Regions from separate parts of the Homo sapiens genome. Here all the other regions are linked to region 3. The links are contacts of gene promoters, found by promoter capture Hi-C in blood cells and fetal thymus (Javierre and others, 2016). All regions are on one chromosome and are shown on one strand. The core of a region is centred on a gene start or on the middle of the fragment in contact, and the rest is flanking DNA. Distances in the headings are between cores, read along the strand shown.

What was found. The method cuts DNA at HindIII sites, captures the fragments that hold promoters and counts their contacts. A CHiCAGO score of 5 or more calls a contact.
Region 1: a fragment that was not itself captured here is called in contact with the fragment with the promoter of AZIN1 in region 3 in 4 of 17 cell types (fetal thymus, neutrophils, activated CD4 T cells and 1 more); the score reaches 10.5 in fetal thymus.
Region 2: a contact is called between a fragment that was not itself captured here and the fragment with the promoter of AZIN1 in region 3, in 6 of 17 cell types (total CD4 T cells, naive B cells, naive CD4 T cells and 3 more). The highest score is 8.3, in total CD4 T cells.

Annotation. Positions count from the first base shown.
Region 1 is chr8:100,945,240-100,948,466 of GRCh38, reverse strand. All of the region lies in intron 2 of YWHAZ (tyrosine 3-monooxygenase/tryptophan 5-monooxygenase activation protein zeta), which reads left to right. Among named protein-coding and RNA genes, the nearest start is that of YWHAZ, 5.2 kb to the left of the region's middle. The HindIII fragment of the contact is 2,056 bases long and covers 443-2,498 here.
Region 2 is chr8:101,318,298-101,321,714 of GRCh38, reverse strand. It overlaps LOC124901993, which reads right to left. Exons shown (of 6, transcript XM_047422526.1): 5 at 1,565-1,660; 6 at 453-960. The coding sequence ends at 920. Among named protein-coding and RNA genes, the nearest start is that of LINC02844, 57 kb to the right of the region's middle. The HindIII fragment of the contact is 504 bases long and covers 1,867-2,370 here.
Region 3 is chr8:102,862,537-102,866,046 of GRCh38, reverse strand. It overlaps AZIN1 (antizyme inhibitor 1), which reads left to right and starts at 1,884. Exons shown (of 12, transcript NM_148174.4): 1 at 1,884-2,240. MAILR (macrophage interferon regulatory lncRNA) reads right to left here and starts at 1,776. Exons shown (of 3, transcript NR_126339.1): 1 at 1,424-1,776. RefSeq lists enhancers at 806-1,538, 3,007-3,510 and silencers at 1,418-1,767, 2,428-2,657. The HindIII fragment of the contact is 10,250 bases long and covers 1-3,510 here.

The sequences.
Region 1 (3,227 bases), core at 221-2,720, 1.9 Mb after region 3:
CATGGTGTCATGACTAAAAAGATGTTAAGACAATTATAGATACGTGTATGTAAAATAATTGCAACAATGATTATGAAACAGTTCAGTTTTGTTAAAAATAACAGACTTTAGTATTGTATTTTATATTAATTGAAAATATAAACTAATTGTGTTACTGTTTTACTTATGGTTAGAATATTTGTAGTAGCTCTATAGCTGGTTATCTTAAATGTACATCTGTGGATAAAGGAATTTTACATACTTTAGGTAAGAGAGATGTAATAGGATACTCATTGTAGAAATAGTACTCTTCTCAGGATTAGCCGCTATAATGTTAATGTAATGAGTCAACCATGCAGAAAACTCTGGCGTCACAACTATGAAACCTCTTCCTGCATTGAATTCTTGAAGGTAAATTTTGAACACTCACAACCATGATGAAAGGTTATGAACAACTCAAGCTTGATTTTCCAGTTTGAATCGAGTATTTTAAGTATTCAGTACTTACTGTGTTGAAGCACTGCGCTTAAAAGAATTAAACTACATTTTGGTTAATTTTAATCTGTCATATAAAGTAGGGCTTTTTGATCAAGAATAGTTTAAATTTGAGGATAAACCAGTAGAGAATCCAACCAAGCTGGCAGTTTTTGGAATAATATTTAAAGTGGTTTTACTAAATGGTTACACTTAACCAGTATGGAAGGGCTCTGATATACAAAGAGGGGCAGCATCTCGATTTTTCTGGACAGATTACTGAATCTGGAACTCAGTATGGAAATCCAGGTTTGTTACTTACTATATGAACCTTGTTTATGGAAGAAGTGCTATAATGAGCAATAGGATAATGTCTGATGTGGTTGTGGGTTTGGGGTTTTTGTTAAAGTTGTGATGATACTATCATTTCTTTACATTTGTATTTACTAATGGAATAGCATCAGTTCCTAAACTGTAATTTTCTCAAATGATACTTACTTGACACTGTCTTTTTAAAGAATAGTGATTTTTTAAACATGCTTATTTGGGTTCACAGCCACAAACTCAATGAGGCATCTGTCTTGGGGCATTTTTTTGTTCTTTGCTTATTGAAACCTTTAGAATGATAGCTACTATTTGTATCTAAGTTGAAAAAAGGAATATCTTGCTTTTATTGGGGCCAAGTGACAAATGTCTGTTTTGTGATTTTGCTAAGGTAATAAGAATATTTAAATTTTGTTTTTTGTTTTTTTTTTTTTTTGAGACGGAGTCTTGCTCTGTTGCCCAGGCTGGAGTGCAGTGGCGCGATCTCGGCTCACTGCAAGCTCCGCCTCCCGGGTTCACGCCATTCTCCTGCCTCAGCCTCCCGAATAGCTGAGACTACAGGCGCCTGCCACTGCGCCCGGCTAATTTTTTTGTATTTTTAGTAGAGACGGGGTTTCACCATGTTAGCCAGGATGGTCTCGATCTCCTGACCTCGTGATCCGCCCTCCTCAGCCTCCCAAAGTGCTGGGATTACAGGCTTGAGCCACCGCGCCCGGCCAAATATTTAAATTTTGAAAATGTGATTTTTTTTTTCTATAATAAAAAATGTATTGGGTTTTTTTGTTTTTTTTGTTTTTTTTTTTTGCTCACCTTACTAACTAATATCTGTGTATGTGTAATTCAGTTTTGTTCAGTCTGGAGTGTTTTTCCCAATTATTACACCTGATCGAAAAGTTTTTATTTTGGCTTCAAAGGGTGTGTTACACATTAACATTTCCCTTAAGACAAAAGTCAATTTTAGGAATAAAAAGGAATGTAACATTTACCTTTTACTAACACGCTTATTTGCAATACCAGGTAGGTATGTGCATGTTTTCCATATACAAAGTATAAAAGTTCCTGTCATTGTGAGTCTTTTCCAAGGAAAAGACTTGTAGCAGGTTTGTTTTTTGTGTATGTTTGTTTGTTTGTTTGTTTTGAGACTGAGTTTTGCTCTTGTCACCCAGGCTGGAGTGCAATGGCACCATCTCAGCTCACTGCAACTTCCGCCTCCCGTGTTCAAGCAATTCTTCTGCCTTGACCTCCCGAGTAGCTGGGATTACTGGGCGTGCACCAGCACGCCCAGCTAATTTTTGTACTTTTAGTAAAGATGGGGTTTCACCTTGTCGGCCAGGCTGGTGACCAGGTCACGTCTAACTCTTGACCTCAGGTGATCCACTCGCCTTGGCCTCCCAAAGTGCTGGGATTACAGGAGTGAGCCACCACGTCCAGCCCAACTTGTAGCAGTTTTGACTATGCTTCCCTTTAGTTTCCTTATGAAGAAACTTTGTTTGCATAGAACCAGTAGATGAGGATAACAAGATAATCTCTTCATATAAATAGTTTCTTCTTGTTATGATTATTAAGGAAGTTCACTCTGGTCCCTACCCACATCGTTACCCTCCAGAATAGCACTGGCTTCCCAAAAAGTTTTAATGGTATTTACACTTTGAAAGTTTGGATAAATGAGAGTTTAATTTCTTTACTATACAAATGGCTTTGAAGAGAATTCTAAACAAGCTTTTGCTTCCAGCCTTGGTCTTTTCAGGAGTAAGACTTAGTGATCTTTGCATACTCAACGTGTAATAGATGCTCAAATATTTGTTAAACAAGCAGAAAGGCTTCTTTAGAGAAAGAGCATAGAATTAGGTCAGCAGCACTGCAAAATTTCCCTAGCTTTTTCTTTTTCTGCTTGGGAAAATTTGATATTTACCGATAATAGGCTTCTTTTTCCTACCATCTTTTTCAAATAGGTCACATCGACTCTGGAAACATATTGCATAAAATTCCTTCTGCCCTTTCTGTGAGATGGAAGAATAAAATGTAGCAGAACTGATATTTCTACTAGAAAAAGTTATTGAATCATTATTAATGATTAGTAAAAATATTTTAAATTATATTTTTAAGATCTTACATGATAAAAAATCAATTATAATTTTTTATTACTCCAGCCTTTTCTGGGCTTTGATATATATATTTTTTAATTTGAGAAAAATAAGCAGGTGTCCCTTTGCAGAAATAATAGTATTGGCTTGTGGCATTAGTGATAACCAGATTTTTTATATTGAGCACCTATTTTATAATAGCTATGAAAATAAACTTTCTTCCTACAAAAAGCAGCTAATCTCCAAAGTTCTGAGTTTTTCTGAAGAGCTCTTTAGTAACCCATTCTGGTTATATGTATTTATCTATTGTTTAACCATTTAATAAGCAAAGAGCTTGGACCATGTTGCATATTACAAGAGTAAATA
Region 2 (3,417 bases), core at 869-3,368, 1.5 Mb after region 3:
TTCTGAGGCTCAAAGCCTGGTACTTGTAATTTCATATTTTTTTGTCTCCAAGATATGCTCATTACCAAATGTTTTGATAGTTTATTTTAAAACTCAGTTGACACTTTTTTCTTTTCTCAGCACATTTGCTGAGTCTTTTTTCCCATGAGGCAAAACTTCCATTTGGTCTCTTACATTGCCCAGCACTTGCAGTTAGGCAGGGCCACTTGACCAGTTCTGGCCATGAAATATGGGTGAAAATAATGACTGCCACATACCTACATCCATGTACAATTTTATGTGCTTTCTTCTGCTGTGCCTATCAAGGAGGACATGCACTCAAATGATACAGCTACAAGGTGACGGCACCTGCTTTAGCCTGAGTCCTGAGTGACTATATGGCGCAAAGTCCTTCACTGACCCACAATGAACATGTAGCATGAATGAGAAATAAACTATTGTGTGTTTAACCATTGAGATTTTTGCAGCTGTTTATTATTGCAGCACAGTCTGGCCTATCCTGACTAATACCATAGGCTGGAATGCTCTTACACATTGATTGAGGAAGTATCAGGAATATAATGAGATTCTTGAGGGAAAAAGAAAACAAACAAACAAACCTTGGTTGATACTATAAACTATTATCCCATTACAATTTTATAAGTCAAGGATGTTATTCAAAATATTGAATAACCTGTATAGCATGAGTCCAACTAATCAGAACAGTCACAAAAACAAATCAGAAGAGATATCACCCAGTAGAGTATGCAGGGAGGTGTCAGCTGAAGATCCTTGGCATGTTGTCAGAGCAATATGAGCATTAAATATCTTGAATATGGAATAAGTGAATGAGCAATAAGGCTGATTATAAGCTGAGTTCATGGCCTCTGCATCTAAAATTTACTTAAAACAAAGAAGGTGGACTCCAGAGTCTGGAAGGTTAAATGGATGCATTTCCCTGGCTGTTCCTTCTGCTCCAACCTGAAAAAAAAATAAAGCAACTGAATCTCAGCATCTGTATCTGCTTATCTATTTTATGGCCAAATCATTTCTTATCTGTTAACATTTAGCCTGCTCGAAAATGTGGCCATTTATATGTCAACATATTTATTGATATGTTTTCAAGTGTACTTCTAATTGTTCAGAATGTCAAATTCTTTCTGGGAAGCTCAAATAATTGACATATTCCTGCCACTATGGATAATCAATAGTCTAGTGATGCCCTAAGTAACAAACTGAGAGACCGAGAAGACCTCCTGAACCATGAGAGAAAGATTCAAGAATGTTCTGGGTGGTTCTAAGGTTAAGTACACACTGCTGTGGGCTTACTTGGACACGGGCCATTGTTATATGATTGGAATATTTGTCCCCTCCAAAACTCATGTTGAAACTTGAACACAAATGTTTCAGGATTGAGAGGTGATTGGATCATGAGGGCTCTGCCCCAGTGAATGGATAAATCCATCATGGATTAATTGATTAAAGGGTTAATGGATTAATGAATTATCATGGGAGTGGAATGGATGGCTTTATAAGAAGAGGAAGAGAGCCTGGGCTAGTACACAAACGCACTCAGCCCACTTACCATGTGATGCCCTGCCTACCTCAGGATGCTTCAGAGTCCCCACCAGTAAGAAGGCCATCACCAGATGCAGGCCCTCGACCTTGGACTTCTCAGCCTCTGTAAGTGTAAGAAATAAATTTTTTTCTTTATAAATTACCCAGTTTCAGGTATTCTCTTATAAGCAACAGAAAACAGACTAATATAGTGATTACTAATGCCATTTTAGTAATTTTCATCTAGCCAGAAGAAACAATTCACAAAGAATCTCATATCTCAACCATTGAAAGAAATGGAAGTTTTCCATAGTGTGGCCAGTGAAAGCTTACATATTACAAGAGACTATGAACCTGGAAATAACTGAATGGCTGAAATTATGTGCAAAAATTCTGTCTTTGTACTTACATGCTTGGCATATTACACATGCATTTCTAGCTTTATACATGCCCCAAGAATATTTTTAGGAGATGAATAAACCCCAACTTGCAAAGACAATTTCCTTGCAAAGAAAGGACTTTGTCTGACTAATCCAAATGGCAAAATAAAAACAGGAGACAGAAAGATGAGTCTTTAAATCTTAAAAACACTTGAATTGTAGTTAAAAGAAAATCAAAGCCTCAGATGGTAGAGTGTTGATGCATTTAGATGAAAATTAAAATGAAGAATGAAGAAAGCACTAAGTAATCCTCTTCTGGTTGAGTCAAAGGATTTGCTTCCTGAAATTCAAGTGATGATAGAAGGAGGGAGTACATGGTCTAGTGTCTGAGCTTGGGGAGGAGTGTGGCAGGAATGTTGTCCTGACAGCAAGGTTGGAAGGGGAAAAGAAAGCTTGCTTGGCAAGCTTGGTCAAAGCTTGTTTGTTGGGAAATCAATGTAGGCAGGGAAGGAGAAATTTCTGGAACAGAGATTCCTTAACTTGGAGGAGCAACAGCTGCCTCCAAAGATCCAACTGTCCTTTCATTTATTTTAGAAGAGATAAAGAATGACATATATTAAAAACTAAAGAGACTTAGGGTTGAATGAGAAGATCTGCAGTCAGAAAATGCAGATACCAGAATTTTGTAGCTACTTGCAATTTATTTTATAGAAAGCTTTTAAATATTGGGAGCAGCTTATCTTTTTTTTCCAACATGGAGAAGATTAAATGGAGAGGATGGAACTGGAATTTTTTTGCAACTTCTATTTCTCTATTTCAAAGCTGCTAACAAGTCTGTCATAAACACCAGCTGGGCTGCAGCTGGAACAAATTCGGTCTATGGGTCATTCTCGTGAGTATTTGAGCAAGCAACCTTGCCATATGACTTTTCATAAGCATAAAATCTGGAATTGTAAAAGAAACTGAAATCAACATTTATGGAGTGGGTCTAAAGGGCAGGCCCTGCAGACCTGAAGTGTAGGTCACATGTTGCTGCAAAGATTCCTTCCTCTCTACTCCTGGCAACTGTCCCCACTCCTACTCCCATGCCCTATCCTTGCTCTTTTCTCCTGGTCTCTCAAGGTCTCATCCTTCTCTCACTATCTGCCACAGATGTCCAAAGGGACTGAGAAAACTCCACTATTATGAAGAATGAGAGAAGGGAGATTGAGGAATAACTAGCCATCTGCCAATCACATCATGCTCTTGTTAAGTGTCTTGGCATCAGAGAAGGTACTTCATTCTAAATCACTTTTGCATTCCCAGAACCTAGTCTAGTGCTTGGCGCATAGTAGGTGCTTAGTAAATGCCTGCCAAATAAATTACTATCATGTAAGAGAATTGCAGAGCACAGATTTTTAGTGTAAACTTTGTGAGGATAAAAATAAAATGCCTTTTAAATAAGTAAAGCATTGAAGATACTCATTATTTGTATCCTAATCTAGTACTCAAAATGCAGATG
Region 3 (3,510 bases), core at 635-3,134:
CATGTTGGTCAGGCTGGTCTCGAATTCCCGACCTCAGGTAATCCGCCCTCCTCGGCCTCCCAAAGTGCTGGGAATACAGGTGTAAGCCACTGCGCCCAGCCTCCAATGTCTTCTTGATGTCACCCTAATCTACCGTTTCAATCTCATTTGCAACCATGCCCCTATGCTGGAACCAGAAAGGCTATTCACAATTCTCTAAACCCACCCACTTCTGTGCCTTCTCTCATCCGTTTCCCTTGCCTGGAACACTGGAACATCTACTCTCAAAATCACCAAACAGGCGAGTTTGGTGAAAAAGGAAGCACCTTTGTCTAGAAAGGCTTTTCTCAAAATCACTCTTTACCTTTCCCCAGCAGCCTTTCTCTCACTTAGCTGCAATCATCTCTTCCCTCCACTTGGTCCTTGCAGCATTTTATTTGTATCAGCCAACAATTTATTTTGTATTGCTGTCTTATTTCCCCTGCTAGATTGTAAGCAAGGTTTCAAATATTGTATTCATCTCTAGTTTTTCTTCCTCCACCAGAGAGGGTCTAGTGAATGGCTGTGTTTTCAAATGTTCTGAATAGAACAGAACTTTGAAGAAATAAAAGACAGAGCCAAGATATAGCCGAGCAAAATAAGGAAAAACAAAATCAGGAATGCGTCCACAGCTCCTGATTCTACCGAATACTCTCTCATACAGCCTCGCAAGATACCCTGCTTTTCCACACAGGAAGGTCGCTTTCTTCCTTTCACATTTGATGATTTATTAATCAACCACAGTGCTGCTCAAAGTACACAGAGGGTTCGGAAGAATGAAAGGGAAAAAAGTCAGGGTCTTAATATCAAAGATCTTAACTTCAGAGGGGTGTGTCAACACATATTCCATTTGTGCTATGTGTTGCGAAGCGTAGCAGCACGAGAGAACTCGGGGTCTCTGATCATGATCATTAGTGCTGAGGCATCTAAAAAAGATGAAAATAAATTAAAAGCTATGTAGGTAATCTTAGAACCCCTAGTAAAAAAAAGTCTGTTGTGGAGTAGAAAAATTAAAACGACCGCGAAAATGAGACCTAGGGGATTGAAGTAATGTGCGCTTGTAACATCAGTAATCCCCTCTCCAACGCGGGTCCTGCTTGGGACTGACTCCACCAATCCTTTTAAAAATGAAGACATAAAAGCCATATTCCTTTAAAAAATTTCCACTGCACCGTATTGCAACGTTCGAGCACTGAGGACATTTTCACGTGGTCACAACCCTTTTTAACACCCGGACACTGGGCCGGTCCTTTCTGGCCACGAGGAACTCGCTTCCCTAAAGGAGTACCGCATCACCGAGGGCGGGCGCCTCAGCCCGGGAGGACACTCCCCAGGGTAAACTACAGGCCTCACAAAGCGGAGGGAGCTGGACGCGAAGGCTCGGCAGCGGCGCCGACAGGCTTACCCCAGGCCCACTCTAGGCCGCACAGGGTTCGCGCCACCTCCGGCCCAGGACAGCTCTCAGACGCTGCCAGCGTGGAGCTCGACCCGGCTCACAATGCGCTGGGCCCCGCAGCGTGAGCGCAGGCGCCCGAGAGGCGGCGGGGGTCGGGCGGACGGCGCGCTCCAGCCGAGCCGCCTCCCTCTCTCGGCCCACACCCGCGCGGCCGCCCTTCGCCTGCCGGGGAGCTGCGGGTGGCTGGAGGGCGGGAAGCGACCGGCCAGTCTGCACCTGCATGACCCGGTCGCGCGCCGACCCCTCCCCTCTCTCTCCCGGGCTCAGTCCTCCTTCCTCTTCCGTCCCCCTCCCTTTTCTCCGGGCTGCAACCGGGTTCCGCCCCGCTCGCGCGGCTGCCCGGCCAGCTGTGATGTCACCAGGCCACGCCCCCTAATATAAATACTGGCGTCGCTGGCGCCGCCTTCTCACACTTTCAGGCTCTGATCGCGGCCGCAGTTTTTCCTTTTTTCTTCTGCCGTCGCCTTCTCTGCCTCTTCTCATCCTTTCTCGCTCTGCTGCTCTGCAGTGTGACGAGTCCGAATCCTCTTCCCACCCAGCCCGCGCCTTTCTTCTTTTGCCTGCGCTGTTCTATTTCTCCTTCGGCCGCCGCCGCCACTGCTGCACACAGCTGGTGTCGGTGCCGCGCTTTTACCCCCAAGTCGTTCCCGCAGCCTATGGCCCAGGCCGCCTTGGGTATTTCTGCTCAAGGTAACCACATCCCTCTTTAAAAATTCCGCCGAAAAAGAGAAGACGCTTTACCCGACTCTTTGGGCCGTTATCTCACGTGAGTACCGAGCCGAGGAGCGCGGGAGGGGCCAGGACGCGGGGCTGGCCTTGGGGGGCGGCTGGGGGGCTCCGGCTGGGCCCCGCCGCCCTTAAGACGTCCCCGCAGCGCCCCGCGGCCGGCCGCCTCGAACATGGCGGCGGCGGCTGTCTGTGCCCCCGGCGGCGGCGGCGGCGGCGGGGCTGGGCGGCGGGCCGCGCCTCAGGACCTTCGGGCGGCTGCTGGACGCTTGGCGGAGCCGGAGCCGCAGCAGTTGGGGCGAGGGGGCGTGTGCCAGTGGGGGAGCGCGCGGGGGTCTCGCCGCCGGGGGTCGCCGTCCCCTCCTGGCGGCGTGCGGCCCCCACCCCTCTCCCGTGGTGCATTGCTGTTTCCGGGGAGGGGGCCCGGCCGCAGCCCTGAGGGGCCGGGGTCCCGCAGCCCCTACTCCGCGGTGCGCCGCCGCCACCTTTGCCTCCCGAAGCCCGGCGGGCGGGCGGCGCTGTGGGCTGCAACGGCTGGGGTCCTGGTTATGAATGGAGCGGGGCGGGCCCCGCGCCGGCCTCTGGTGACAGCTGCGGAGGAAGTCGGATTCCTGGGGGGCGCGGGGAGCGCGGTCCCCCTCTGGTGGAGGAAAGTTGACGCCACTTGGGGCCTGGCGGCGGGGAAGCCCCGGTGTCAGGTAGCCAGCGAGAGGCTTTTGGCCCCTTCTGGAAGCCTCGAGGCTGCTGCTCCGCCCCTGCGGCGCTCCTGATTGGGTCAAGTCGCCTTCACTCACCCCAGTCACCTCCTGGAGCCTGAGGATTAGTCACCATGGCTTCGTTTTTCCGTCCGCGCCATGGTTCCTAGGCAGAAAGAGGGAGATTGGTAGACGGGTGGCTTATCAACTACTGTCTTGACTGCCAACAGTTGGTGGTGGTAACATGTTCTAACCCTTACACGGTATCCTGAATGTGTGTTTCGTAGACAAAGCTGCTGGTTCAGAAACCCGAAACAGTCGGGGACACAGTTTACCGCCTCATGTTTCAGCACATTTAACTGAATTTTGTGGTGGCATCTTGGTTATATTAGTTCTGTGTCCCGTCGTGTTTCTATCGTGAATTCCCAGACTGGGTGGGAATCTAAGGACTCAAAGGAGGGGGAATTGCCTTGTGCTCAGCGAAGGTTGATGTAGAGGTGCATCAAAGCACAAAGTAGAAGTACATCAAAGCACATCAAATACAGCAAGGGTTGGCAGAAACATGGCTCATGATTGTCTAGAAAGGCCCTCATAATTCATTAATTTCTTTTACAT